Linked DNA regions of Homo sapiens: region 1 is linked to region 2. The links are contacts of gene promoters, found by promoter capture Hi-C in blood cells and fetal thymus (Javierre and others, 2016). All regions are on one chromosome and are shown on one strand. The core of a region is centred on a gene start or on the middle of the fragment in contact, and the rest is flanking DNA. Distances in the headings are between cores, read along the strand shown.

Region 1 (5,962 bases), core at 2,602-5,101, 460 kb after region 2:
GTGTTTTCAGGGGACACAGTTCTGGGGGTGCAGGGATGACTCATATGGGGCTCTTGACCTCAGTTAGCTTATAATCTTGTGCAGGAGATAAGTGGGTAGAGGAAAGTATAGAAATTTCCACGGCAGTGAGCCGCAGCTGTGTTTTGCATGGTCTCCATAATTTCTTTTCTTTTCTTTTCTTTTTTTTTTTTTTTTGACATGAGTCTCCCTCTGTCGCCCAGGCTGGAGTGCAGTGTGCAGTGGCGCGATGTCAGCCACTGAACGGAAAACTGTGGGCGACGCAATCTGTGATCATCTCTGGGGGTCTGCATAAAGCTCATGACCACTGATGTGCGAAAAGTGCTTTTTTTTTTTTTTTTGAGACAGGGTCTTACTCAGTCGCTGAGGCTGGAGTGCAGTGGTGCAATCACGGCTCACTGCAATTTCTGCCTCTGGGATTCAAGCGATTCTCCTGCCTCAACCTCCCAAGTAGTTGGGACTGCAGGTGCACGGTACCACGCCTGGCTAATTTTTGTATTTTTAGTAGAGACGGGGTTTCACCGTGTTGGCCAGGCTAGTCTTGAACTCCTGGCCTCAAGTGATCCGCCCACCTCGGCCTCCCAAAGTGCTGGGATTACAGGTGTGAGCCACTGCACCTGGCCAAATAATGCTTTCTGAGTAACACGCTTGCATGAAGGAGCAGTCAGGCAAGATCCCACCCCAGTGCCCACCACATTTGTAAAACAAGAAAATCGAACTAGCTGGGTACTTTGCCCTATGTTTTTCATCATATGTTACATTTTGAATCTTTTTCATGTTTGAAAAATGATCTACGATGTGCCCTTTCTGTTATATCTTTTATTGGCTTTTTTTTTTTTGAGATGAATTCTAATTGATCTCAGAAAAAAAAAAAAAAAGCACGCACTTTTTATATACCAGTTGTCATGGGCTTTTTGCAGGCCCCCAGAGATCATCACAGATTGCGTTTCCCATGGGTCTCATTCCTGCCTGAGACACTGCCTTTCTCTGGGTACCTATAAACCTGGAGAGTGACATGGTGGGGTGTGGTGCATATATTCATATATATGTTTACATGTGTGCATGTGGAAACACTCCGTCTCTTATGCCATGGTTCAGACCCACAATAGCAGTCCCAGCAGGGAGCCCTCCGACCCTGCCCAAGGCATCTGTACGGTTGACACCCTTGTGCTTTGCTTCTCCAGACAGCTCAGCAGCTCCTCCTCCTATAGTGGGGACATCAGCAGGCACCACAACAGCACCGCAGAACTGCAGAAAGCTGAGGCCAAGAAGGAGGAGACCTGGAAGCTGATGGAGGCTGACAAGGCGCAGACAGGGCAGGTGAGATTCGCTCCTTAAGTGATGACAGTGGCTGGAGTTTATAGAGCGCCCACTGTGCACTGGGCACTGTGCAAAGTGCCTTGTCTATGTTAACTCACCTGTCCATCACAACACACCTGTGAAGATACTATTTGCAGCACCAGAAACTGAGGCCAGAGAGGCTAAGTGACTTACTCACGGTCACCCCTGGTCAGCGGCAGAACTGGGATTTGAACCCTGGCCAACTCCAGGGTTAGTACTTGTAGTCTCTGCTCTATTGACTGCCTGAGCAGCTCAGGGGGGTCTCATTCGCTAGAGGTGAGCTGGATGCTTTAAATCAGGGCTTCCTGCAACGTGGGGTTCAGTTGTGCATGAGATGGTGTCCGGTTGTGCACAGACGCATTAAATGACAGAGGAATGTTTGTTTCATTTCTTTTTTTAATTTTTATTTTTTTGAGATGGAGTCTCACTCTGTCACCAAGGCTGGAGTGCAGTGGTGCGATCTCGGCTCACTACAACCTCTGCCTCCTGGGTTCAAGCAGTTTTCCTGCCTCAGCCTCCTGAGTAGCTGGGATTACAGAAACTTGCTACCTTGCCCAGCTAATTTTTGTATTTTTAGTAGAGACAGGGTTTCACCATGTTGGCCAGGCTGGTCTTGAACTCCTGACCTCAGGTGATCCACCCACCTTGGCCTCCCAAAATGCTGGGATTACAGGGGTGAGCACCGCGTCCTGCCTGTTTTTCATTTCTCATTTGGTCCTAATGATTACGTCCCTGAGAAAGTCCCAGTTGGGTCCTACCCTGCCTTCTCAACCTATCAACCACTATCCTCTCTTTGTAACAAGGAGACCGGGTTTTGAGCTCCTGTTTTATTGTTTTTAAAGATCGTCTATTTTGGGCAAGTGTTAATAATTCTCCATTTATGGTGGTGATCCAAAGTTTATTTTTAAAAATAAATGTGGTTTTTTTTGTTTTTGTTTTTAAAGGGAATGGAATTTTTAAAGTAGGTAAAAAATAAGCATGCAGATAAAGAAAAACAAAAAAAAAAACATGAAAGGTGGTAGCCGGGGAGTGGGGCTGGGGCACTTTCTCTTAGATCTGCCCGGATGTGTCCAGAGCTTCCGAGGACTGTCTGTTCCTGGCTTCTTCCTTAACTTGTCATCAGAGTCAGGACCGTAACAAGGGGCAGAGGTGACTCTGGTGTCCTCTCTCGCCTTACCCTTAGTGACCCTCCAGGAAGCCAGAGAAGTTACCCCAAATCGCAGGACATGGGAAGGAAGGGCCAGAGATGCCAGGCCCATTTAATCCTCATTTAACTCCAATTTTATATTCAAGGAACATCAAAGCCAGGGGGCTTGTTACTTGTCAAAGTTGGACCCAGAGTGGAGCCAGGCACAACACGCTTATCGTTTCTTTGTGTCTTTTTTTTTTTTTTTTTTTTTTTTGAGACGAAGTCCTGCTGTGTTGCCCAGGCTGTAGTGCCGTGGCGCTCACCGCAACCTCCGCCTCCCGGGTTCAAGCAATTTACCTGCCTCAGCCTCCCGAGTAGCTGGGACTACAGGCCTGCGCCACCATGCCTAGCTAATTTTTGTATTTTCGGTAGAGATGGCGTTTCACTATGTTGGCCAGGCTGGTCTCAAACTCCTGACCTTGTGATCTGCCTGCCTCAGCCTCCCAAAGAGCTGGTGCTGGGATTATAGGCATGAGCCACTGCGCCCGGCCTTTTTTTTTTTTTTAATTTGTTTTCTTTTTTTTTTTTCTGAGACAAGGTCTGACTCTGTCACCCAGGATGGAGTGCAGTGGCACAATCATGGCTAACTGCAGCCTCCACCTCCCGGATTCAAGTGATTCTCCCACCTCAGCCTTCCAAGTAGCTGTGACTACATGTGTGCACCCCCACGCTTGACTAATTTTTTTAATTTTTTTGTGGAGATGAGGTTTCGCCCTGTCGCCCAGACTGGTCTTGAGCTCCTGGGCTCAAGTGACTGGCCCGCCTCCCAAAGTACTGGGATTACAGATGTGAGCCACCACACCTGGCCACACACTTGTCATTTCTGACCCCCGAGCCCACCACATTCCACTACTCATGAGAAAGAGGTTCCTGAACGCTGCAGGCTAATTTCAGGGACAGCAGGCAACTTGGCCGCATGACAAAGCCAAGTGGTGAAATAAACACATTCTTAATTATGACCTGTCTCCTCACCCACATTTTTCATTTTCCAGAATGGGGACTTGAAAACTCAAAAGGAAGCAGCCAGTTACACATCAGACCTGTTATCTTTCACCTGTTACCTTTCAGCTAGACCGTAGGGTCAGATGATTTTTGTTTTTTTTTCTGGTGAGGGGCAGAGCCTCACTGTGTCGCTCAGGCTGGAGTGCAGTGGTGTGACCAACGCTCACTGCAGCCTTAAGCTTCTGGGTTCAAGAGCTCCTCCTAGCTCAGCTTCCTGAGTAGCTGGGACTATAGGTGTGGACCACCACACCTAGCTAATTTTAAAATTTTTTGTAGAGACAGGGTCTTACTGTGTTTCCCAGGCTGGTCTCAAACTCCTGGGCTCAAGTCATTGTCCTGCCTTGGCCTCCCAAAGTGCTGGCATTATAGGTGTGAGCCACCGCACCCAGTCCAGATGATTTTCATGACCCAAAATTCAGCATGAAAAGCTTGAAATGACAATGAGCACAGACACGGGTAAAGATCCCTGGAATTTCTTGAAACCAAGTCAGGTGGTTTAGGTGGGGGCTGGCCTAAAGCAGATTGCCCTGTCTCTCATGTCAGGCGGCTAGACACATTTGTTTAGCCCCATGCTGGGCTCCACAGGGAATATAGGAGGGAAAGAAACTCCAACCTTCACCTCCTGGAGCGAACTGGGCACTGGGAAGATGGGTGAGATGGTATTCTGTGCTCAGAGTGAAAAGAGTTGGAGGAGGCTGGCCCAGTTGTGGTGTTGAGGTGACATTTGGCCTTGGTTGCCAGGCAACATGTCACACGTTGCTTAAAACTCATTGGTGGCTTCTGCTTTCTGTCAGTCTTGGCTAAAAGTTGGAATCCTGACCCGAGTCTCCCATGCCATGTGTGGTCTGACTGCGACCGGTTTTTCCAGCCTCTTGTTCCTTGCTGCCCCATGATCTCCTGGCTCCAGCCACCAGTGCCTTCTCTCAGTTCCCCAGATGCACTGTGTTCCCTCCTACCTCAGGGCCTTTGCACATGCTGGTTCTGCCACCTTTTTTCCATTTTCAGCTGGTTTAACTCCTTTTTTTTTTTTTCCCCCTGGAGGCAATGTCTCCCTCTGTCACCCAGGCTGGTGTGCAGTAAGTTTGGCTTGGTGCAACCTCCACCTCCTGGCTTCAAGCGACCCTTGTGCCTCAGCCTACAGGCATGTGCCCCCACGCCTGACTAATTTTTGTATTTTTTGTAGAGGTGAGATTTCATCATGTTGGCCAGGCTGGTCTCGGATTCCTGACCTCAGGTGATCCACTTGCCGCAGCCCCTCAAAGTGCTGGGATTACAGGTGTGTGAGCCACGATGCCCAGCACTCTTTATTTTTTTTTATTTTTTAGAGACAGTCTCACTCTGTCACCCACGCTGGAGTGCAGTGGCGCATTCTCGGCTCACTGTAACCTCCGCCTACTGGGTTCAAGCCATTCTCTTGCCTCAGCCTCCCGAGTAGCTGAGATGACATGTGCCTACCACCATGCCCAGCTAATTTTTGTATTTTAGTAGGCAAGGGGTTTCGCCATGTTAGTCAGGCTGGTCTCAAACTCCTGACCTCAGGTAATCCACCCGCCTCGGCCTACCGACGTGCTGGGATCACAGGCATGAGCCACTGCACCCAGCCTTGGTTTAACTCTTTAATGTCACTTCCTCGAAGAAAACCTCCCCCAATACCTCTCTAGACTGCATTAGGTCAGGTTGTCTGATTTTATACTCACGTGGAATTGTGCACCGTTTACAGCCCTTCTCTGTGATGACGCATTTATCTGGGATGATTTTATGGGAGCCTATCTCACCACGCGACTGGAAGCTCCATGCATGAGGGCAGAGACCCTGAGTTTGTCTCTTTTTTTTGAGACGGAGTCTCACTCTGTCGCCCAGGCTGGAGTGCAGTGGGGCAATCTTGGCTCACTGCTTCTACCTCTGCCTCCTGGGTTCGAGGAATTCTGCCTCGGCCTTCCAATTAGCTGGGATTACAGATGCCGACCACACACCCGGCTAACTTTATATTTTTAATAGAGGCAGGATTTTGCCATATTGGCCAGGCTGGTCTCGAAGTCTCTACCTCAGTTGATCTGCCCGCCTCAGCCTCCCAAAATGTTGGGATTACAGGTGTGAGCCACGGCGCCTGGCCCTCGACTTTGTTTACTGCTGACTTTGTTGAATAGCTAAAGGGGAGGGGTGTTCTACGTAGGAGCAAAGGCAGGCAGCTGGGTGGCACAGTGCTGGTGAAGCCCCCGACCTTGTGGGGCTGGGGCTGGGGCTGGGTGCGTGCATGTGCTAAGCTGCCTTATCTCCTGTGATCTCCAGGTCAAGCTTTCCGTGTACTGGGACTACATGAAGGCCATCGGACTCTTCATCTCCTTCCTCAGCATCTTCCTTTTCATGTGTAACCATGTGTCCGCGCTGGCTTCCAACTATTGGCTCAGCCTC
Region 2 (6,845 bases), core at 644-3,143:
GTATTTGTTAATGAACATGTTATGACAGGATGTTTTAGAAGAAAATAAAGAAAAAAAGAAATTCCAGCCAAGCATGGTGGCTTGATTTTATTTATTTATTTATTTTGAGATGAAGTCTCCCTCTGTCTCCCAGGCTGGAATGCAGTGGCGTGATCTCCACTCACCGCAACCTCTGCCTTCTGAGTTACATGGCTCACGCCTGTAATCCCAGCACTTTGGGAGACTGAGGTGTATTGCTTGAGGTCAGGAGTTCGAGACCAGCCTGGCCAACACAGTGAAACCGTGTCTCTACTAAAAATACAAAAAATTAGCTGGGCGTAATGGTGGGCGCCTGTAATCCCAGCTACTAGGGAGACTAAGACAAGAAAATCGCTTGAATCTGGGAGGCAGAGGTTGCAGTGAGCCGAGATCGCACCATTGCACGCCAGCCTGGGCAACAAGAGGGAAACTCTGTCTCGAAAAGAAAAAAATTATTTTTTAATTTTAATTTGTTAGTGAACAATTAGGGTTGCTGTGAGAATTGTGCCTGGCACACACAGCCATTTAAAAATCACGATCTTCAGGCAGTGTGTGGTGGCTCACGCCTGTAATCCCAGGACTTTGGGAGGCCGAGGTGGGTGGATCACCTGAGGACAGGGATTCGAGAGCAGCCTGGCCAACATGGTGAAACCCCGTCTCTACTAAAAATATAAAAATTAGCCGGGTGTGGTGATGCGGGCCTGTGATCCCAGCTACTCGGGAGGCTGAAGCAGGAGAATTGCTTGAACTCAGAAGGCAGAGGTTGCAGTGAGTGGAGATCACGCCACTGCATTCCAGCCTGGGAGACAGAGGGAGATTTCATCTCAAAATAAATAAATAAACAAAATCAAGATCATTTAACAAATACATATATTGTACTTACTAAGTTCAAATTTCTGTTCTAAACGTTTTTACAAATGCTGTTAAGTCATTTAGTCCTCTGCATAATGTCGTTTGTTTGTTTGTCTGTTCTTTAAGACGGAGTCTTGCCCTGTCGCCTAGGCTAGAGTGCAGTGGTGTGATCTCGGCTCACTGCAACCGCCACCTCCCGGTTTCCCGTGATTCTCCTGCCTCAGCCTCCTGAGTAGCTGGGATTACAGGTGCGTGCCACCACATCCGGCTAATTTTTTGTATCTTTAGTAGAGACGGGGTTTCACCATGTGCCAGGCTGGTCTTGAACTCCTGACCTCGTGATCCACCCGCCTTGGCCTCCCAAAGTGCTGGGATTACAGGCGTGACCACCGCGCCAGACCCATAATGGCGTTTTATAGATGGGGAAACGGAGTCATAGAGGCTAAACAACTTTCCCAAGACCACACAGTTAGTAAGGGGCAGGACTAGGACTCAAAGCCAAGTTTATGACCAAATTCTGGTGCACTACGTTCTCCTGCTTCTGGAGAAGATAATGATGCTGAAGATTCTACTTTTGGTGTAAAGGAGTAGGAAGGGCACGGGGCACTGCTAGCTTCAGTGGGCCTGAATCTTTGTCTTTCCTTCTGATTTGGAGAAAGTGCAAGAATGGGAAAATGCAATCGAAGTGAAGGAGAGGCCGGCGTATTTTCCTGAAATGCGCGGCCCGCAAGCCCAAACCCGTTTCCCGGGTGTCCAGGCAGCGTTCTGCAGCATCTCCAATGCCCGCCAGCCCGCCGCAGCCCAGCGCCCGGCAGCCGGCGCCTCTCAAACCCCCTCCGGCCAGGAGCCTTCGCCGCTTGGCCGCGCCGCGCCCGGCCTGGGAAAAAAGTTTCCAAACGACGCTGCTCTGCGCTGATTGGCCGAGGCGGACGCGGTACCGTAGAGCAGCAGCCAATGGGAGGCGCCGACCGCAGGCTCCGGGGCGGGGGCGGGGTCCGGAGGGCCGGGGCCGCACCGCCCTTCGCAGCCGCCTCTGCCGCCGCCGCCGCGTTGGCCTCGCCGCCCCTGCTCGGGTAAGTGAGGCGCTGCGCGGGGCTGGGGTCGGGGTGGCTGTCCGGGGACCTCCACCGCGGCTGAAAAGCTCCTCTGCCCCGCCCCAGGATCCCGGGACCCCGGGCCACCGCCTGGCAGGGACCCCTACGCCCCTCGCTTGCGCGTCGCTTCCCGGCCGCCTGGACTCCCCCGGTCCCTGGGCTCCAAAATCCCGCCTCCCTGGAGCCTCCCGTCCTAAAAAGTTAGGCACTGAGTGCCTTGCCACCGGTGCGTTCCTCGCGCTGGCCCCTCGCCCTTGGCAACTTTGTTTCTCTTTCTGCGTTGGTCTCTCTCCCACCCCGTTGCCCTCTTCTCCTTCCGGGACTTCCTGGGTGGTTAAGCCTTGCCGGTCCCCAAACCCCGCTGCCAGGCTCCATCCTCTTTCTCCTCTTCCTTCCTCCCCATACTCCTCTCCTAGATGACCCTCGTTTCTTTTCTCTCTCTCTCCTATTCCTCCATCCTGCCACCCGCTTCTCTGCGACCCCAGACCCCTCGATTGCAGCGTTGCCCCTGCCCTCACACCCACTGTCCCGCCCCTGCAGGCCTCTTTCCAAAAACCCACCCTGCTCCCTCCCTCCGGGAACACGTTTGGGGCAGTCTGCTCTCCGCTTTGCTCCCGTCTCTGCCGCAGGACGGTTCAGGTTTCTTCTGACAGCACTTTGGGGAGGGATTGGGTAAAGGACGAAAATGCTTATTCCGCAGCTTGAGTGATGGCTGGGCTCACTGAGGACCTGAGTCTCTGAGGTCCTGGGAAACCCCGCTGTCACCTTGACACCGCTTTTGGGGAGGCGACTTTATCTTCTCCGAGCCATCTCAGGCTTTCTGCCTCCTGAGGGCCTGAGCTTCCTTGATTGCTTTGTCCGTGGTTACTACCAGGTTGTGCCTCTTAATTTCTACTTTGAGCCTCAGGCCCCTTTTAACTTTCTAAAGAAAAGGCCTTTGCAGCACGACCTAGGCAGGTTCATCATTTTTAGTTTTGTTATAGTGTATTCTAGCATAGGATGGCATTTTAGGACATGGGTCGGGTGTTTTGAAGATTAATTAGATCCCAGCTACTCCTAAAGCCTCTTGTTACCCGACCACCCCAGCCTCCATCACCTCGTTGGTATACAACCCGTTTTTTTTTTTTTTTTTTTGTTTTTGTTTTTGAGACAGAGTCTCACTCTCGCCCAGGTTGGAGTGCAGTGGTGCGATTTTGGCTCACTGCAACCTCCGCTTCCCGGGTTCAAGCGATTCTCCTGCCTCAGCCTCCGGAGTAGCTGGGACTACAGGTGCGTGCCACCACGCCTGGCTAATTTTTTGTATTTTTAGTAGAGATGGGGTTTCACCGTGTTAGCCAGGATGGTCTCGATTTCCTGACCTCGTGATCTGCCCCCTCGGCCTCCCAAAGTGCTGGGATTACAGGCGTGAGCCACCGTGCCGGCCTACAACCCATTTTGAGCCTTTCCTCTTAGTGTGTGTTTTGTGTAGGATTAAATGCAGATGATCTGTGCCGCTGAAGTCTCAGGGGCCTGTGATTCATATATTTTATCCCATGTTGGATAACAGTTTATTAACTTGACTTATTTTTGTTTCCAAAGTGTGTTATTTATTATTTATTTATTTATTTATTTTGAGACGGAGTCTTGTTCTTGTCCAGGCTGGAGTGCAGTGGCATGATCTCGACTCACTGCAACCTCAGTCCTCCGGGTTCAAGTGATTCTTCTGCCTCACCCTCCTGAGTAGCTGGGATTACAGGTGCGTGCCACCATGCCCGGCTAATTCTTAGTAGAGATGGGGTTTCACCATATTGGCCAGGCTGGTCTCAAACTTCTGACCTCGTGATCTGCCCACCTCAGCCTCCCAAAGTGTTGGGATTACAGGCATGAGCCACTGCACCCGACTCTATCATTATTATTATTTTTTATGTAGAGGCAGAATCTTGCTTTGTTGCCCAGGCTGGTCTCAAATTCCTGGGCTCAAGCAGTCCTCCTGCCTTGGCCTCCCACAGTGCTGAGATTACTTGCAGGCATGAGCCACTGCATGCAGCCCAAAGTGTGTTCTTTTGCCTTAGAATGTGAGCCGAGAATTGACACTCCTTTTCCTCACAAGGTAATTTCCTAACATGAGCATTCCTGTGTACAGAAAGTTTGTGCCTGCAGTTAGTACTACACGTGCACCTCGTGCAATGGATGTGGGTGCTTTTTGTCTGCCTCCTTCAGCAGTGCCCAGCACTTAGTAGGTATTCAAGAAATGTTTGAAAAGGGTTGGAGGAGGCAAAACCACAGTAGGAAAAATTCTTTCCCTGTCACTTGGTTCAGTAGAATAAAATTATCCTGGAACAATAGCTATTTTACTTTTTGTCCAAGTTTTTGTTTGTTTGTTTTTTGAGACGGGATCTCACTCTGTCGCCCAAGCTGGAACACAGTGATGCAATCACAGCTCACTGCAGTCTCGACCTCTCAGGCTCAAGCAATCCTCTTGCCTGAGCCTCCCAAGTAGCTGGGACTAAAAGCACATGCCACCATGCTTGGCTAATTTTTAAAATTTTTTGTAGAGATTGGGGTCTCACTATGTTGCCCAGGCTGGTCTCGAACTCCTGGGTTCAAGCGATCCTTCCGCCTCAGCCTCCCAACGTGCCGGGGTGGGAGAGAGCCACCGCGCCTGGCCTAAGCTTTTTAAAATCTCTAAAGCGATCTATGCTTACTGTATATATGTGTATGTAGTTTACCTTAAAGCAAGGTGTCAGGTACAAATCCACAGGGCTTGCTTTACCCCCATTCTGGTGCATCCTCCAGACCCTTTTCTATTCTGTGTACAGAGAGAGGGAAATAAACAAAAATGGGCACCCATTTTTAACATATCCTGAGCTTTCTTCCATATTAGTACTTACAGTTCTTAACAACTGCATCGTTTTCCATTCAGTCCTCTGTTGACATTGAGGTTTCCAGTTTTCCACATTCGTGAATGATGGTGTGCATCTTTGAACATGGGTCCTTGCCTGCCTAAGTATTTTTGTAGGTTGATCATTGTAAACTTGGAAAGCACAAAGACAGAAGCCAGGCTTGCTGACTCTTGACTGATGTTGCCCCAGTGATGTCACTCCTGCAAAATGCAAAGCCTGCGTCCTGGCTGTCGGAGCATGTGTGGACATTTGGCAGCTTCTTTCTCTTCCCTCCTGCTCTTCTGTTTGTTTTGATTGGGAAGGATATGGAGTGGGGATGGAGAAGGGTGTTGAGTAATTATCGATGGTTTCTGTATGTTTATTGCTCCTGACTAGCAGTGCTGGGTTTCTTCTCTCAGAGGAAAGCTGAAAGAGATTGCTTTGCTTTTTTCCAGAGTTTTAAAATCAGAGGTGTGTGTCTCGAGTGTATTTTCAGACTTTTTTGTTAGCTTTAATCATGTAAAACATGCAAAAAAAAAAAAAGCATGTGGAAACAATTTTTTTTTTTTGAGACGGGTTCTCGCTCTGTCACACAGGCTGGAGTGCTGTGGGGCGATCTCGGCTCACTGCAACCACCGCCTCCCATGCTCAAGTGATCCTCCCACCTCAGCCTCCTGAGTAGCTGGGACCACAGGTGTGCATCACCACACCTGGCTAATTTTTTTGTGTTTTTGGTAGAGATGGGGTTTCACCATGTTGCCCAGGCTGGTCTCTTATCTGCTGACCTCAGGTGATCTGCCTGCCTCACCCTCCCAAAGTGCTGGGATTACAGGCATGAGCCACCACACCCGGCCGGAAACAAATTTTTGAAGGAGGCATAGATCTCTGTTGTGCAAAATAGATACTTTTTGTACCACTGGGTCCTAGTTTGTCATTGTTCCTTGCATGATCCCATCAGATTTGTCTACAGAGCTGCTGGGGCATGATGGTGTGGTGGCGTATTAAGAACGCAGGTTAGTGGCACACAGATGAAATAAATGCATGTGGGGTGCATTTTTAAGATAGCAGGTGCAAAGTTGTATATACTGAGACCAGGCATTAACACTTGCCTATTACAGTGCCTTTTAAAACACTATGTGAGGGCCGGGTGCAATGGCTCACACCTGTAATCCCAGCACTTTGGGAGGCCTAGGTGGGCAGATCACCTGAGGTCAGGAGATCGAGACCAGCCTGGCCAACGTGGCGAAACCCCGTCTCTCCTAAAAATACAAAAAATTAGCCAGTCGTGGTGGCATGCACCTGTAATCCGAGGTACTAGGGACGCTGAGGTAGGAGAATCGCTTGAAGCTGCGAGGCAGAGGTTGCAGTGAGCTGAGATCACACCACTGCACTCCAGCCTGGGCAACAGAGAAAGAGATTCCGACTCAAAAAAAAAAAAAACAAAAAAAAAAAAAACAAAACTGGACCAAATGAAACAAGTGAATCTGATCTGCAGTCAGTCAGTTTGCAACCCCTGGGAAGCCTTGGACTTGAATGCAAAGATCCCTTGAACTTGGATCTAGTTTGCCTCTGCTGCTCACATGCACATTTAGAGATGGCCAAGGCATACGGTGTTTCTGCTTCCAAGAAACAGAGTGGTTGTCCTGTTTAGCCATCTCTTACAGTCACACAGCTTAAAGAAGATAATGTTTGCAAACAATTTTTGAAATGTCTAGCACACAGCAAACAGAAGGTCAAATTCAGTACTTAATGCTGATAAAATAAGAGAACCCTTGCAAGTCATGTTGCCTGCTTTCTGCCACAGAGAGTACTGCAATAGAACTTTCTGACGTTTTCATGTTGTTTATTTATTTATTTTTTGAGACAGAGTCTTGCTCTTGTGCCCAGGCTGGAGTGCAGTGGTACAATTTCTGCTCACTGCAACCTCTGCCTCTGGGTTCAAGCAATTCTTGGGCCTCAGCCACCCAAGTAGCTGGAATTATAGGTGCGCTCTACCACACCTGGCTAATTTTTGTGTTTC

Evidence for each region. The method cuts DNA at HindIII sites, captures the fragments that hold promoters and counts their contacts. A CHiCAGO score of 5 or more calls a contact.
Region 1: a contact is called between a fragment that was not itself captured here and the fragment with the promoter of NDE1 in region 2, in 1 of 17 cell types (erythroblasts). The highest score is 5.2, in erythroblasts.

The regions. Positions count from the first base shown.
Region 1 is chr16:16,105,536-16,111,497 of GRCh38, forward strand. ABCC1 (ATP binding cassette subfamily C member 1 (ABCC1 blood group)) reads left to right here. Exons shown (of 31, transcript NM_004996.4): 21 at 1,203-1,338; 22 at 5,840-5,962. Among named protein-coding and RNA genes, the nearest start is that of ABCC6, 110 kb to the right of the region's middle. The HindIII fragment of the contact is 249 bases long and covers 3,728-3,976 here.
Region 2 is chr16:15,648,352-15,655,196 of GRCh38, forward strand. It overlaps NDE1 (nudE neurodevelopment protein 1), which reads left to right and starts at 1,894. Exons shown (of 9, transcript NM_017668.3): 1 at 1,894-1,943. RefSeq lists enhancers at 1,595-2,096, 2,097-2,596 and a silencer at 4,961-5,255. The HindIII fragment of the contact is 10,572 bases long and covers 1-4,613 here.